Linked DNA regions of Homo sapiens: all the other regions are linked to region 1. The links are contacts of gene promoters, found by promoter capture Hi-C in blood cells and fetal thymus (Javierre and others, 2016). All regions are on one chromosome and are shown on one strand. Each heading gives the region's core, a stretch centred on a gene start or on the middle of the fragment in contact. The rest is flanking DNA. Distances are from core to core; before and after follow the strand shown. Region 1 holds the start of TUBGCP3 (tubulin gamma complex component 3). Region 2 overlaps ARHGEF7 (Rho guanine nucleotide exchange factor 7). Region 3 overlaps ARHGEF7 (Rho guanine nucleotide exchange factor 7). Region 4 overlaps ARHGEF7 (Rho guanine nucleotide exchange factor 7). Region 5 has its middle 120 kb from the start of LINC02337.

The links. The method cuts DNA at HindIII sites, captures the fragments that hold promoters and counts their contacts. A CHiCAGO score of 5 or more calls a contact.
Region 2: a contact is called between a fragment that was not itself captured here and the fragment with the promoter of TUBGCP3 in region 1, in 1 of 17 cell types (naive CD8 T cells). The highest score is 5.3, in naive CD8 T cells.
Region 3: a fragment that was not itself captured here is called in contact with the fragment with the promoter of TUBGCP3 in region 1 in 1 of 17 cell types (M1 macrophages); the score reaches 5.2 in M1 macrophages.
Region 4: a contact is called between a fragment that was not itself captured here and the fragment with the promoter of TUBGCP3 in region 1, in 2 of 17 cell types (M1 macrophages and endothelial precursors). The highest score is 7.1, in M1 macrophages.
Region 5: a fragment that was not itself captured here is called in contact with the fragment with the promoter of TUBGCP3 in region 1 in 1 of 17 cell types (endothelial precursors); the score reaches 5.4 in endothelial precursors.

The regions. Positions count from the first base shown.
Region 1 is chr13:112,586,625-112,589,872 of GRCh38, reverse strand. TUBGCP3 (tubulin gamma complex component 3) reads left to right here and starts at 1,720. Exons shown (of 22, transcript NM_006322.6): 1 at 1,720-1,968. The coding sequence starts at 1,893. LOC124903251 (a long non-coding RNA gene) reads right to left here and starts at 1,687. Exons shown (of 2, transcript XR_007063945.1): 1 at 457-1,687. RefSeq lists an enhancer at 905-1,724 and silencers at 1,790-2,009, 2,040-2,099, 2,130-2,249. The HindIII fragment of the contact is 2,856 bases long and covers 1,133-3,248 here.
Region 2 is chr13:111,150,141-111,153,388 of GRCh38, reverse strand. The region is part of intron 1 of ARHGEF7 (Rho guanine nucleotide exchange factor 7); the gene reads right to left. It overlaps LOC101060553 (a long non-coding RNA gene), which reads left to right. Exons shown (of 2, transcript NR_120398.1): 1 at 1-3,248. Among named protein-coding and RNA genes, the nearest start is that of ARHGEF7-AS1, 3.2 kb to the right of the region's middle. The HindIII fragment of the contact is 835 bases long and covers 867-1,701 here.
Region 3 is chr13:111,168,347-111,171,594 of GRCh38, reverse strand. All of the region lies in intron 2 of ARHGEF7 (Rho guanine nucleotide exchange factor 7), which reads right to left. Among named protein-coding and RNA genes, the nearest start is that of ARHGEF7-AS1, 21 kb to the right of the region's middle. The HindIII fragment of the contact is 2,413 bases long and covers 474-2,886 here.
Region 4 is chr13:111,285,170-111,288,417 of GRCh38, reverse strand. ARHGEF7 (Rho guanine nucleotide exchange factor 7) reads right to left here. Exons shown (of 22, transcript NM_001354046.2): 17 at 2,178-2,271; 18 at 1-64. Among named protein-coding and RNA genes, the nearest start is that of TEX29, 34 kb to the left of the region's middle. The HindIII fragment of the contact is 3,119 bases long and covers 19-3,137 here.
Region 5 is chr13:111,473,045-111,476,292 of GRCh38, reverse strand. No RefSeq gene overlaps it. Among named protein-coding and RNA genes, the nearest start is that of LINC02337, 120 kb to the left of the region's middle. RefSeq lists an enhancer at 927-1,427. The HindIII fragment of the contact is 7,350 bases long and covers 1-3,248 here.

The DNA.
Region 1 (3,248 bases), core at 471-2,970:
TTAGATTGAGCTAATTTTACATAAAAATCTAACTTCCTTAAAGGCCAAAATGGTTTGATCTTTTTGTTCAGATATGTTTATGGCCACCCTGTTTGCTATACTACCTGCTAACTGGCTTATCTTGCTTTTTTGAGTGTCTTTGAATGGCCTGGAATCTTGATAATGGCTAATGATTTTGGCAATAGTATGGCTTGCCATAATTCTGAAACAAGGCACCCATTTTTTTGTGGGCTGACTAGAAAAGGTTAAAAATCCTTTGTCTCCATAGCATTCCAAAGTTATGAGCTACTCTATAAGCATACCTGCTATTGGTATAAAGATTAGCAGTTATTCCTTTTGCCAACTGACAGGCTCTAATTAATGCTATTAACTTTGCTTGTTGAGATGATTGCTCCTGGAAGACAAGCACTTTCTATTTCTTTGGGCAAAGACGCTATGGCATAACCAGTGTAATACCTTCCAGCTGCATCTTTAAGTAAGAGCCATCTGTAAACCAAATAACATCAGCGTTAGTGAGGGGGGTTCTTGCATGTCTGTCCTAGGAGAGAGCTGGTCAGGTAAGATGATGCAGTCATGCAGCGTTTCAGCTGAAGGTGGGGGAGAGGGTGGCAGGATTTAGATGACATCTGGACATTGTAGTATGCGGCTGAGAGAATAACTTCATGAGAAGCCAGTTACTAACTGATCGTGTTGAGTGTGATGCAAGTTTAGAAGCGTTTCCACAGAATGCGTATCGAAGGCAGTGAGGGGTGATCGCATCCTTGGTGGTTTGGTTGCTCTTGCAGAGCTGTGATGGTTGTTGCATCATGCAAGGAGACAGTCCTTTAGCTGTAGGGTCTAGTTGTTGACTGTAATACCCTACAAGTCTGCTTTGTCTCCATGTTTTTGAGTCAGAACGACAACAAACGTTTTACTTGCCAACAATTCTGCAACCTGAGCTGGACCCAGGCCCGACGGGCTTTGCAGACAGTCACGTGTGTGGCTGGCCTCAGCTGGGATGTTGGGATAGCTGGGTTGTCCTCCCTCTTCCATTTCATAGGATCTCGGGATCTCTTTCCATCATTTTTCCTTAGGAAGTTGGCCTTTTAACATGGTAGCTCACGGCTCCCAAGCGTGCACCCATGTGTAAGCTTTAACGATTGCACTGAAGTTGGCTTGGTGTAATTGTCTGCTTATCGATCTTTTTCTCGGCAGGTTTCCTGTTCTCTCACTCCGTACGTGATTAATTTATTTTCCCAGGACGTCCCAGTTACCCGGGCCGGGGGGGACCGGCCCGCGCGGCAGTGCGAGGTCGGGCCTGAGCAGGGCGCCTGTTGGATAGCGTAGCAGGTGAACTGCCCACTGCACGTTAACAATCGTAACACCCTGCACCCTTTAAACAGGCTTCTTTTTTCTTTTCTTTTTTAAACAGGCTTCTTTCATCAGAAGTGTGAATCAAACCAATGCCGTTAACACACACACCCCCACACCCACACACCAAATTATGGCCTTTATGGTGCTACCGGCCACCAAGTGCCCTCCAAGCAAGCCCGTCACGCTCGCGACTCCGGGGCCGCTCTGTCCGCGCAGCTCGAGGGCCTCGGGCCACCTGTCGCCCGGAACTTTCTCGGCCGACCGGGCAGCAGCAGGGGGAATGCACCAGACAGGGCCGGGAACGCTTAGGCAGCCGCACGCGCGGCCGCGGCGCAGGGAAGAAGCGGGGCATTGTGGGAAGCGCCCGCGCTTTCGGCGGGTTCCGTTAAAATGGCGCCCTGGTGGCCGGCGGCGCCCGCGCCTTAGCCTGTCAGGAGCAGGGAGCTTGCGGGGCGCAGGAAGGGCGCGGGCCGCGGTCCCTGCGCGTGCGGCGGCAGTGGCGGCTCTGCCCGGACCACCGTGCACGGCTCCGGGCGAGGATGGCGACCCCGGACCAGAAGTCGCCGAACGTTCTGCTGCAGAACCTGTGCTGCAGGATCCTGGGCAGGAGCGAAGGTAGAGTGGCCGGGCGACGCGAAGCCCGCAGACCCGTCCCGGGGGCTGCTCCCTGCGCGTGCAGCCCTAATACGTTCCGGGGCTGGAGGAACGAGGATGCAGGGCCGGGCAGAGGGCTGGGGGACGGGCCGAGGACGTGGGGCCCGGACGAGGGAGCGGAGGGCTGGGGTTCGAGGGTCAGGGAGCCGGGGAGGACAGCGGAGGGCTGGGGGCCAGGACCGGGGCGGAGGGAGTGGAGAGGCCAAGGCCGGGGCGAGAACGCCGGGGCGGGAGGCGGGAGGGCGGAGCCGAGCCGGAGCGGGCTGAGTCACCGCTCACTCCGCTCGCGGGTCCGTCAGTGAGGACGGGAGGAATGCCAGCTCGCCAATTTATCCCCCTTCTCTGGTGTCACGCGCCGTGGGAGGGCGCCTCTGCGCGCCTTTGGGTTCATCCTGTGGGGTGGAGAGAGCGGCTGCGCCGCGGAGGTGGATGCGGGGTGCTGGAGTGTCACATCATCGTCCCTTTTCGTTAGGAAAGTTTAACAGGCTTGAGTATTATGGGAAGAGGGTGTTAACGACTGTAACTGCCGTGTTTTCCTACTGTTTAAAGGGTTGAAGGTTGGATTTGATATAAAACTATTCTGGGAAAGTTCACATGGCGAATATTGTTACTAATAAGCAAAACTAATCCTATACGGTAGGTAAAACCATTTTGTAGTCGAGGTACTTTGAAAGAAATGGTACAGGATGCCATTTCTTGCTCCTTGTTTTGGCCAGGTTGGTGGGGCAGAGAGTGAGGATGCACCATGAGGGAATTTTCTGAGTAATGGAAGCAACTGAGTTACATCTTAAGCACCAAAATGTGGAAAAGAAGTTACTCAATTTTTGAAGGAAGACTTCAAAGTTACATTTAAAGTACTGAGAATGCATTTTGACCTTTCATGCTTCATGACAATTACTGTACATAATTCATTGGATGTTCTATGATAATCTTGGGGCAATCATGAATAATTTTGTGTCGCTATTAAATGAGTGACTTCACACAGTTCTTGCTGCATCTTGTAAAGTTTGATTCTATCACTTTATTTATCTAAGAAATCTTTGAGGACAACCCCGTCCTCAAAGTTCCCCCCGGGAACTGTGCTAAGTGCTGGTGATGCAGATGCACAAGTCATTCCTCCCACAGATCTGACAGACACTCTACTGGAAGAGACAGATGATAAACCAGCCATGTTAATTAGCAATAAGTACTGTGGCGAAAAAGTAGGGTAAAGGAATAGAGAGGGAAGAGGCAGGTGAGGG
Region 2 (3,248 bases), core at 35-2,534, 1.4 Mb after region 1:
TCCTCCCTGCTCCAGGTCCTTGGCCTGGCCCCGCAGACACAGCGCACCCGCTCGGCCCCTAGCGCAGACACCGCCGCCTCTTGGCGCCAGGTCCTCGGCCTCTCCCAAGTGGACGCAGCCTGGCCCAGAGGGGCCCCAGAGAACTCGGGCGGCTTGAGTAACCCCTGATCGTTGGGAGAGAACCTGGGATTTTTTCCCTTCTTTCTAGCCTAGGCTCATGGAGAGCGCAGTTACTATTCTAATGCAATGACTTAAAATAATTAAGCAACATAAATTATGCATGTTGGGATTAAGGTGCAATGTTTTCCCAAATATAAGCCACGCGCTTCATGAATGATTAACCGAAATAGTTAACATGAAAACCAGTAAGTCAGCTGAGAAGAAATTGTGGATCCACCGCAGTGGAGGAGCGCAGGAAGGCGCCTACAGACTCCCTAGTGCTTTAGTCCAAGGTAGAATTGTGAGGGCCACCAGCAACACATGTAAGGTGTTTGGACCTTACCCACGGCAAGAAACTAAGGAAACCAGAAACAGTACCAATTACTAGAAAATTTTAAGAAGCCTGAGGCATACGAAAAACTTTATTTTGTTTTTTGCTCTAAGGATTATTTTAACTGTAAGAAAACTTATGTTCCAAATTACATGTGAAGACATTAAGCGTTGACATTTAAACTAATGCGTCATCTAGAACTCTAGCATTTGAGGACATTAAAGGCATTTTTGTCCTTCTGTACTGTAGGAGAAAATCACGACATTTCACCAGGCTACTCAGGAATACTGTGGTTTCATTTTATGGTGCTCAGGTGTTTTAAAATTATACATCAAAACCAAGTGTTCAGCAATGCCAAAAGGGATGAAATGAAGCTTTTTTCTTTCTATAGTTGAAAAATTCCTTCAAGCAAGTGCTGACATGTTTCCATCGAAACTGTACATTTTTTCAGTGGAATGGCAAAAGCAAAGCTGCTTCCTAATCCGTTTTGCTCTTTAAAATAATTTTCAAAAATTATCACATATCTAGGTAATACCTAATTTTTTTCTTCATAGTTTTAAATAGTTGTAAAGGATGTAATTTCTGACATTCTGATGACATTTTTAAATTAAACCATTGCATCCTTTATAAAAAATATATCCAATAGAATCTAAGTGTAATAGAAACATAATACCCATTTCTCCATCTAAAAAGTTTCTGAACAAGTCAGACATTAATTCTTTCTCCTTTAATTCATTCCACTTCACCCAAAAAGTTGTATCCTCATATAGTCTATTTTTATGCTTGAAACACACTCTTTTTTGGCAAGTAACCTCTACAAATACAGTCAATCATCATTCAAAGAGTCTGTATTTATGAACTCAGCTACTTGGCTAAAAATTATGTGTAACCCAAAAATCAATACTTGAAGCACTCTCAGTCATATATGGACACAAGCAGAACAGTGAAAAATTTGGATCACCTTATGTACACGTTCCCAGCTGTGCTTGAATAAGGCCATGCTCTGCCTTTTTTTTTTAGTTCTCATTCTGTAAACATATGTCCTCTTCTCACTCTACTTAGTGTCACATTTTTCAAATTTCTATGCTTTCCGATGGTGATTTCTGTTTCAAATGGCCCCCAAACGTAGTGCTGAAATGCTGTCTAATGTCCCTAAGCGCAAGAAGGCTGTGATGTGTCTTAACAGAGAAAATACATGTGTTAGATAAGCTTTGTTCGGGCATGAGTTATAGTGCTGTTGGCCATGAGTTCAATGTTAATGAATCAACAATACAGTGCATTCACATCTGTACATGAGGCTGCTCCAGAAAGTGCTAAAGTAACATCTATAGTGTGTGATGAAGCTATGGAAAAGATGGAAAAGCAGCTAAAATTGTGGATTCATGAGACGACAACCAATAAAAAAAGTCATATATGGACTTTTGTAGTGTAGTGAGCAGTATTGTTGTGAGGCTGAAAGCCAAAGAAATTTACAGCCATGTTACCCAAGGTCAGGAAAATATTAAACCCTTCTCAGCCAGTGCAGGCTGGCTGGCACGTTTCAAAAGGCGGTACAGCATGAAATCAAATTTTAAACTTGCAGGCAAGGCAGGTTCTGCCATAAGGAGGCTGCGGAAGAATTTTTAAAATGTCTGCTAAGTGTTATACGTGAAAAGGGTTAAAGGGTTATGGTAAAGAGCAGGTTTTCAATGCTGATGAGACTGCTTGTTTTATAAGAATGTTGGCAAATGAACCTATGTAATGTAAATGGTCACACGAGCCCCTGACTTTAAAGCATTCAACCTTGCTATTGTGCACCAATGCCAAGGGCGACTTTAAGTGCAAACCTCTGATGGTGTACAGAGCCCAAAACCCATGAGCCCTTAAAGGGAAAAATCTGAACTGCATGCCAGTCCATTGGCGGTAGAACAGAAAAGCATGGCTGGTATCTGAAATATTCTGGGATTGGTTCCACCACTGCTTCATTCCAGAAGTTGAACGATATCTCTAGGGCAAAAACCTTGCTTTCTGGGTCTTATTAATTTTGGATAATGCCCCAGTTCATTGCACGATGAACTTGAAAATGCTCACCCCAACAAAGAAGTTCTTTTCATGCCCCCAATACTACATCTCTCGTCCAGCCCCTCAGGGCATAATACAAACTTTCAAGGCACACTACACGAGGGAACTTTATTGTAAAGCTTGTGAGGCTCTTGACGCCAACAAGGAAGCCACCATGACAGACTACTGGAAATCACTCACTATACGCAGCATTATTGATTATGTTGGCACAGCGTGGGACAGCATCAAGCAGGCTACTATCAATAACTGCTGGGAAAACATTTGGCCAGACTCTGTGAAAACTTTTCAAGGCTTTGAAGGTGTTTCAGAAAATATAAAAAACAATGTAAAAAAACAATGCATATTGCAAGGCAAATAAGTGGAGAAGGTTTCAATGACATGAAGGAAGAAGATGTGGAGGAAATTTTGTCAGAGAAGGCAGTAGAACCCACAAACAAAAACCTGGATGAGATGGCAAAACATGGGAGCATAGTCAGGGATGAAAGTCACCCTAAGACTCCAAGAATTGTCCTTCTCACAGCAGCCAAAATATCAGAATAGAATTCTGCCTTGGAAAACATTTTCAATGACATGGAAGAATGTGACCCTGTACTTGAACGTGGCCTCACATTTAAGCACCTCACTTCCACTGCATTTATCCCTTATTCTGAGATGCTTAAAGATTTGAGGCAAAAAGCCAGGCAGACAAGGCTGAACC
Region 3 (3,248 bases), core at 431-2,930, 1.4 Mb after region 1:
AATTGCTCATGCAAATTGAACACATACATAATGAGCCAACTTCCTCAACTAAAAGATCAAAGCATGAAGGGAAAGGACTTGTAGATTCAAGCATGTAACCTGGAGCGATATTAAAGTGTAACTCTATAAACAAAGTGAAATTATTTTTAATGCTTTTCACTTTATTTTTTTTAATTTGCTTTCAAAGACTGTCACCAAAGAGCCTCATCCAGCACTGAGCAGCCACACTCTGTTCAGACACCTGTACTCCTGCACACGCAGCTCCCAAGCTAGGCTTGGCTACAACCAAAACCCAAATACCTCAAATCTTTATGGTTACAACAGTGCCAGCTCACACAGTTTAAACTATCTTAGCCTCCTCATCACAAACAAAATGCTGTGGAAAAAACCGTACCTTCCTCAGGCTAATTCCATTTGGTTATACAGAGCCCTGAACAAAAGTAACTCTAAGAGTGCATTGGTGAGCTTAAGCTTAAAGTAAAAGCCAGTTCTTTCATTTGAGTTCAAGCCCTTGTTTAACAGATTTCAAACAATAATTTTAAAAAAAGAAAATCCAGTGCACACAAAATTCTTAGTTCCCTATTTTATGATGGATATTTGGTATGCATGCATTTTTCTTATGGACACAAACAACAGAAAAAGGATAAAATGCTTTTAAAAATTAAAGATAACCACTGCTGCTTTTTATATCTGCAACAGAAAAGACTGAGACTGATTATCTGTTATCTGCCATAAATTAAATTCCCAAATCAAACTTCTTGTCCCAAGTACCCAACAAGCAGGTCTCCCATTTTTACCTCAAACACACAGCAGCAGGCTCTGCTTCCAGGGGCCTGGGCACCATCCGTCATCAGAGTTCTCCCAAGTCCTCCCAGAGCGGAGCCAGACCCTTGGGGTAGCCACCATCATCTCCCAACAAGGAACCTTCTAGAACCTTCCAGAAAGTGAATCTGGCCTAAGGGTAACACACAGCACTTTCCCCGGCCACTTAGCACTGCATTCAGTAAAGGCAGGAAGGCTTGAGTGAGCAGCCTTGTGCAAGGCCGTTGATAACGCCAGTAACATGATCAATTCTCACCCAGCTTCCCTACATAAGAGATAAAATAAGAAGAAATTCCAGTAAGAAGGAAGAAAATGGTCAACAGAAGAGCAATTCTGACGTCCACGTTTGGTCTTCCTCAGAAGATTGACTAACTGCGCCAGGCACGGTGGCTCACGCCTATAATCCCAGCACTTTGGGAGGCCAAGGCGGGTGGATCACTTAAGGCCAGGAGTTCAAGACCAGCCTGGCCAACATGGCAAGACCTCGTCTCTATTAAAAATACAAAAATTAGCCAGGCATGGTGGTACATGCCTGTAATCTCAGCTACTCGAGAGGTTGAGGCATGAGTACTGCTTGATCCCAGGAGGCAGAGGTTACAGTGGGCTGAAATCACACCACTGCACTCCAGCAGGGAGAACAGAGCAAGACTCTGTCTACAAAAAAAGAAGAGTGGCTAGCTTGTATCACGTTGGCTGTGAGAGCAAATCCTAAAAGCGTCACCTCTGCAGAGGGGCCTTCTCTGATCACCCAATCTCTAAAAGCGTCACCTCTGCAGAGGGGCCTGCTCTGATCACCCAATCTAAGTCAGCACTCAGGTGCTCTCTCACCTCACCCCCTGATATTCTGCAGTTGTTGCGCATGACAGTTTTATTTGTTCACACGCTCATTCCTTTGCTTAAGTGTCTCCCCAACTAGAATTACACTCCCTAAGAGCAGGGCCCCTCCTCCCTTACTCACCAAGCCACCTCCAGCAACTAGAACGGTGTCTAGCAAACAGAGGTGATCATTAAATGTTCATTACTGTAACAGCATAAATATATTTTACAGTAAGAATGACTCCAAAGTTAAAAATATAATTCCACCAAAAAATCTTCCAATAATGTCTCACAAGCAAGGTCCTGGTTACCAACGCAAGGACCAGGAAGAAGCCTCTGGCTGATGTGGCTTGGTTCTCATGTCGAAGTATAATCCCCAATGTTGGAGGTGGGGCCTGGTGGGAGGTGACTGGATCGTGAGGGGCAGATTTCCCCTTGGTGCTGTTCTCGTGATGATGAGTGTGTGCTGGTGAGATATGGTTGTTTCAAGGTGTGTGGCACCTCCCCACTCCCTTGCTCCTGCTCCGGCCAGTTAAGACGAGCCTGCTTCCCCTTTGCCTTCCACCACGATTGTAAGTTTCCTGAGGCCTCTCCAGAAACAGGGCAGATGACAACATCATGCTTCCTGTACACCCTGTGGAACCATGAGCCCATTAAACCTCTTTTCTTTATAAATTACCCAGTCTCAGGTATTTATAGCCATGTGAGAACAGACTAATACAGTGGCATTAACGACCTCTGCAATTCTCTCCTAACACACGACTTTCTTCTCTTCCCAACAATGCCAAGTGACTTTTTTAAGGATTAAGTAAACTAGTACATGTTAAACGGATTTGCCTCTGCCTGGCACAACCCCACAGTAAGCATCCCCAAACTTAACCGCTACTATTGTCATTATTTGTTACCTAAGCCAACTTCCCGAATTACTGAACACCAAAAAGTTCAGAACTACTGATTAAAAGAGAAATGATAAGGTCTGCTTCAAATTGTGAATACTGAGTTGCTGTCTGCATCCTCTCTGGCACAGGCATCAAAGAACATATTATAGAAGCAATGTCACCTACCCTCCTCATGTCATCCAACACTCCTGGCTTCCATAAACACTTCACTGGCGATCAGTCATCAAGGAACCTATTCTCTCAACACAGCATCACTTTCTTGGAGTCAACATATCAAAACCACAAAACTATGCCATTTTTACATCTTTAATATTTCCTTTGTTTAGTTTCAAAAATCATCTCTCAAGCTTCAAAAAACTAAACCCAAGTTTTGTGATTCTGTGATTTTTTTCTGGGGGTGGGAATGGACAATTTACTGAAACCCTTTCATAGCCTTCAAAACTGTATAATCTATAAGGATATCCCTTTTCAATCATTACCTTTCAAGACTGAACCTGAACAATTCTTGCCTATTTTATCCACCTCTATGCAGAAACCCTGGTATTTCCCTGTTAATATTCCAAGTTCTTGGAACATTCTGAGAACATAAAGACATGGAAGGAAAAGTGTCAACTCTCCACTCGTGTTTATCCTCAAGGCAGCATGAAGCTTGAAGAAATCTGCAGGAGGCGGGGACTCTGAGCCTGGAATGGCAACAGCTGCTAGGTGGCT
Region 4 (3,248 bases), core at 329-2,828, 1.3 Mb after region 1:
GCGCTGGTGCAGTAAGCTTCAATGACTTTCAGAATCTGAGCATCTTCTTCCAAAGCAGCTGTGCCTGTCAAGAGATGCGCAACAGTTCACAGTCGAACTGAAAGGCCTCTAGGGCAACTGGCGAGACGAATGCAATGCAGACATCAACTCGACCAAAGTGACCAAGTAAGATAATCTGCCCTTGATTTTCTTGTCAGATAACTGTTTTCTACAAAATTCATGAGTTATATTCAAAATAAAATAAAATAAATGCAAATAAAAATATTTGCAACACATTTGGAAAAACGGCGAACATCCTAACTTTATAATGATTATCCTACCAACCCGTAAGAAAATTAGTATCCCCACTCTCAAACTGAAAAAAGGGCAGGAGATAGGAATAAGGAAGTCACAAAACAAGAAGAGTTCTAAGAAAAAATGTCCAATCTCGCTAAAACAAGAAATGAAAATTAAAACATTTTCGTGTTTCCACACGCCAGCCAGATGAAAACAAAAGGCCGACAACTCTCAGTGTCGACGTGGCCATCCGTGCCTGTCTGTTCCCCACACGGCAGCCCGTGGTCCTGTGAAAACCCGGGCCCATCATCTTGTCTATGGAACCGGACTCTGGCTGCCTGCTGCTCAGGGTGCTGTGCTACCTCCCGCTCTGCCAGGGGAGCTTGGGCCCACACAGCGCACTGTCCCTTGGGCACAGCCTGGGGTTCCTGCTCAGGGTCTCTGCAACCAGGCCTGGAGAGCTCCTCCCCAGACACCTGCTTGGCCTGCTTCCTCAGCCCCAGGAGGCTGCTCAAATGGCGCCCTGGCACCGAATCTCCCACCTGTCCTCCCCACTGGGTCTCTGCAGCACTCCATGGCCCACACATTGTTCACTTGTTTTGTTTCTTGTCTGTATCCTCCTACTAAAACATAGGCTCTATGAGAACAGGGATCTCTTTCGGCCACACTGTATCCTTCCCACCCAGCCCACGAAGGTGCTGATGAAGCACGCGTCCATGAACGATGGTCTCAGCTGCAGCCGGCCCCCGGCCCAGCTCAGTGCTGCCCCTGGATCTGCTGAAGGAAGTGGCCCACAGAACAGCCCTCTCAGAGAGAAGCCCCGGCACAGCCAGTAAGCAACAGAGCAGGCATCCAGCACCAGCTCCACTTCAATCACTAGACCCCAGGGCCTCACCATCTCATCAGGGGCCCTGGTGGTCAGGGACCTGGACTACCTAAGGAGAAGGACAGTCAGGATGGTGACTTATACTGCCATGGACATCAGGTGACAAGGACAAGAAAAGAATGAACACCCCAGCACGGTCACCTCACTGGGCTGATTGATGATAAGGTGGCGGTGAGGGGAGGCCAGCAGTGGCATGGCACAGTGAGCGTGTGGGACGGCTGCTGGGCCTCCTCCTGAGGCTGGAGGAAGTGAGCAGTGAAGGCAAAGGACCAACAAAGGCTGAGCTCAGACACAGGGGCGGGGCAGGGCAGAGCCCTGTAGGACAGATCCTGCAACTTTCCCAGAGCTGGCTCTCTCTCCCTGGGCTGCACCCATCAGTCCACAGCAATCTGTTCACGTGCACCCCTTCCCAGCAGTCACCCCCAGGAAAATCACTTACTTCTGAAAAGAGCTCCACTTATTCAAAAGCTATCTACCGAGCACCTAACAGGTGCCAGGTGCTTGCTGCGAGGCCACATAGGAACCCAGAGCTGAGTCAGACCCCTAGGCCTGAGGAGCAGACAGGACAGGTCCAACAGCAGAGAGACCAGCAAGAGAACAGCACGGGTGGGTGCTACCCACAGGAGAACACAGCAGGTCACGCTTCTAACAGACACAGGGTGCTTTGGGAGATGCTGGCACTTCAGGAAGTGTGGGTGGAATATCTTATAGGCGAGAGGGAGAACCAGAAGAGCAGGAGAGCCCTCCAGGTCCGGCCCCAGCTCCTGGATGAGGAAGGGGCTATAAGGCAGTGGTGCCGGGACTGGCACGGAGGCTTCACCACTGACACAAAGGCGCTTCTCCTGCTTGCTTGGGTAAATGTTACGTGGCTTATTCCTATCACTGCCTCAAGGGGCAGACCTTACTTTTGTTTGGAGTCTTCAGAAAGCCACCAAGCCTCCCTCTATCCCAGGAAAGCCATGGCCTACGTGACCAGGAGGCCACGTCCTCCACCACACGGACCGCAGGTACTCACTTTTCCGGGACGCGAACTCCTCATCTGAAGGCTTCCGTTCAGGTTTGCGCTTGGGCAGCAGCTTTTTCATGGTCTTAGGGCTCTTACTAAGATCCTAGGGAAAGACAAAAGAAAATGCTAACATACTCTAAAGCCAATCATTTTCACTGGCATATCAGAAAGGCTGCTGTAAAGGTATAAAACCCCAAATTATTATAGCCACTGATAAGAGCTTCTCGCCTTTTCCTACTTTGATTTTTCTTTACCAGCTTCTGAACGTTAATTTTTAAAAATCAATAGGGCATTTTCAGTATTAGTCATTGGCTAATTTTTTTTTTTTAATTCTAATAAAACCCCTCGTGTCATTTGGGTCCTGTTAGTCCTGTGATGAGAGGTGTCACCAGGAGGCAGGCTGGCGCTGGTGTGCACAGACATCCTGCACGCTCCTGAGGGAGGAGGAGAGGAGGGGGCAGCTGCTCCCTAGGACAGACCTATCCCCTGGCACAGCTAACTGGAAAGAGAGGAGGAAACTAAGGTTGTCATTAAATGACAGATAAGTAAAAAATAATTGCTTTAAGAAAATATTTGAAGTTTCAGGGAGAAGAAAAGGGAGCGAGTGCTCAGCTACCTGACTCTGAGTGCCAGGAGCACAGCCAAGCTCGGCCAGGGCTGCTGTGCAGGGGCCACATGCACACCAGCTCAGAGTGTTCACAACGGAATGGCCCACCCCTTACCTCTTCAAACAGCTTTTCAAACAAGCACAGAAGACGACGGCAAAAAACAAAGTGAGCAAAGCAAGTCCCAACAGAGCAGGTAAGGTGTCAACTGTCAAGCACGTGTTAAATACCGATATCAAAAAAAGGCTGGTTTCTGCATCACCCCAACGACATAAACCATCACGAATGCTAAACGCGAGACCAAGACTCAGAAGATGAGATGTGCTATGGAATGAACCAGGCTGGAAACAGAGGAAACAAAGCTTGGTTTTTAAAATTATCTTTAAAAGTCTTTTCTTGGGAGCTAAACAATGGGTACACATGGACATGACCATGGAAATGACAGACCCTGGGGACTCCAAAAGGCGGAAGGTGA
Region 5 (3,248 bases), core at 346-2,845, 1.1 Mb after region 1:
CCACCTGATAGCCACTGGGCCAGGTGCGGGGGCCTCAGGAAAGGCCTTGGCAGTCCCACCTTCTCTCTGTGTCCACATTCCGTGAAGCCTTGGTTCAAGGCTCTCCACTTCCTGGCGAATCTGCTCTTTATTCATGTAAAGATACCCCAGTCAGTTCATGTTCACACAAGCAGATTCATCTGTCCACTAAGACAGGGGCCCACCAAACCCCCAGCCAGCTCATCATCACCCAAGCAATTCATCTGTCCACTAAGACAAGGGCCCTCCAAGCCCGTGGGAGGCCTACAGGGCTGGCTCGGCCCTTTCTTAGCTCCTGTCCCTCCTCACTCTTCTGCAGAGCTCACCATGACTTCTTGCTCTTACAGCTCAGATAGTATCTGTTTAAACTTCAAAATATTGATGGCAGAGGCATTACTGCTGCCATTCTAGAGATACAGGAGCAAGATGGACGATCAGGACACTTCCCAGGGTGATCCAGGAATCACGAGTGTGGCTGGGACTTAAGTGCAGCTCTACCTAAAGCCTGCACATCCAGTCACCTCGCCGCCCTCCCAGCCCCCAGCAGGACAGCTAGGCCCACCCTGGGCCACTCTCAGCCCAGAGCTTCTGGAATCAGTATCAACCCAGTAAATAAGATGACAACACGTTAATGGAATCAGTGCCACCCACACGCTTCTGCTGGAACAAGTGGAAAAGAGGCGTGAAACTGTTTCATGAGCAATAAATACAATCCAGAGATGGTCCCTATTTCTAAGGTAAAGTGGCAAAGCATGGGAATTATAGGGATTGCACCCGGGGCCCTCTGCTACCTCCGTCAGCACCATCCCTCCCCTGTCTCCTGGGGTCCTCTCCAGCCTATGGAGAGTCACCCCGACAGCATCCCTGGTGTGGACGCGATGTGGCTCTGCAGTTATATTAACAAATGTTGGCTGGGAGTGGTGGCTCACACCTGTAATCCCAGCACTTTGAGATGCTGAGGCGGGCGGATCACAAGGTCAGGAGTTCGAGACCAGCCTGACCAACATGGTGAAACCCTGTCTCTATTAAAAATACAAAAATTAGCTGGGCGTGGTGGCGCACGTCTGAGTAGCCTCCAGCTACTCAGGAGGCTGAGGCAGGAAAATCACTTGAACCCGGGAGGCGGAGGTTGCAGTGAGCTGAGATCGCACCACTGTACTCCAGCCTGTGCAACAGAGCGAGACTCCGTGTCAAAAAAATAAATTAAAATAAATAAAAATGTCATCGCCCTCAGGCAGAACCACGCTGAACAAAGCCCTGTAAAGCCTCCCCTGTTCCTGCAACAAATCCTGCACAGATGGAGCCCGAGGTGTTGCCGGAAGCAGAGGAACCTGAGTGCTGAGACCCCAGCGTGGGGCCCCTCCCCGGTCCCTCAGCAGCAGCTCCGCGTCCCACGCCTGCACTGCAGTGGCCTCCTGCACAAGCGAGGGTGCCAGCAGAGTTGGGATTGCAAGGCAGGCAAGTTGGGGGAGCTTTCAGAGTCAGGCCTCCCCAAGGAGCCTGGGGACCAGAGCTGCCCATATCAGCACACAGGACCACAGCCTTCTCCGGCACCTCAGCCAAGCCTCAAATCCTAGACAGGACTCCCTTCTCTGGATCCACCTGCCCAGCAGCACATTTATTTTAAGAGGGATTTTACTGACATCTGGTGGCAAGACAAGAAACCTCACTCTTTAGAAATACCAGATCCAGGGATTTAATCAGCCTCCATCAGAGACCATGAGCTCTAGAATAAAAAGGAAGCCAAGAGAAGAAATGCAGGGTTCCAGGACACTCACAGCTCCCGCCTCCCTAACAGGCACCAAGAAAGTGGGTGAAGCCGGAACTCGCTTGTATCCCCTGGCACCTGCGTCCCAGTCCGGCAGCAACGTCGCTTCCATCCACAACAACGAACACCTTTAGAAAACTCCCCAGCTTGGGACAGTGACTCCCTGGAGCCTTGTTCCCGAGCACTCGGGGTTTCCTGACCCCTCACTGGGGCTGCAGCTTCCCTCTGGCGGAGGGGGACCTCGACACTCCCCGAATTGGCCCCTGTCCCATAGCAGGAGGTCTCCTACCAGCCCCACATCAAAGTTGCAGGGAACAAGCACAGGTGACCTTGTGGTCCAAGCGTGAATGGATAGAGCCTTGTTTCACCCCACGACAACATTAAGGTGCAAACACTGGTGTGATTATAAGACATTTTCATGCACCCGTAGCTTATCAATGAAACACTTTAAAAACATGACCAGGCCTCAGTACCAAGTGCAAATCTACACTCACTAATCAGAACCTCCCCCTAAAAAAGACTAGGTCTTGTCTGGACAAAAGGGTAAAAAGTTGGACTTCTAGGCCGGGCGTGGTGGCTCACGCCTGTAATCCCAGTACTTTGGGAGGCCAAGGCAGATGGATCACTTGAGGTCAGAAGTTTAAGACGAGCTTGGCCGACATTGTGAAACCCCATCTCTACTAAAAGTACAAAAAAAATTAGCCAGGCATGGTGGTGGGTGCCCCTAATCCCAGCTACTCTGGAGGCCGAGGCAGGAAAATCAATTACTTGAACCTGGGAGGTGGAGGTTGCCGTGAGCCGAGACTGCACCACCGCCCTCCAACCTGGGCAACAGAGCAAGACTCTGCCTCAAAAAAAAAAAAAAAAAAAAAAAGTTGGACTTCCAGTCCAAAGTGAAGGACTTACTTTTCATTGACAAATGGGACAATACAAAGAGTATGCAGTCTGAACACAGCCATTCACACCCACTTAGACACACTCCTAGAAAATGGGCCCAATGTGAACAGCTGTGCTTGGCTGGGGCTGTTGTAGGTAATCACGTTCTTCATGTACTTTCTACATGTGTACTTTTTCCAGGTTGGCACAGCCCCCTGGCCTCCGCTTCATGCCTGCCTGGCCCCGTCTCATTGCAGCAGGCAGAAGTCCTGGTGGAAAGCCCCTGCTCTCAGTCCCTGCCCTGCCCGCACACGGCCTGCAGTGGGCTCAGCACTGGAAGCTCCTTTGGGTTCCCAAAGTGACTGGAAGCCCTGCAGCAGTGAGTCCTGCCTGATTCTCCCCACGTCCCTCAGGTCTGCCCAGTCTGCAGACAAAGGGCAGTTTGACCTGTTCCACGTCTGCCGCTGCCCATCCAGTGACTGTGCAGGGCTGTGCCAAGTCTGCACCCCCACGTGCACAGCACGTACACAGACATCGGCACCTGCACTCTTGGGGGCAGGAAAGGCATCTCCATGCAAACTGCTCA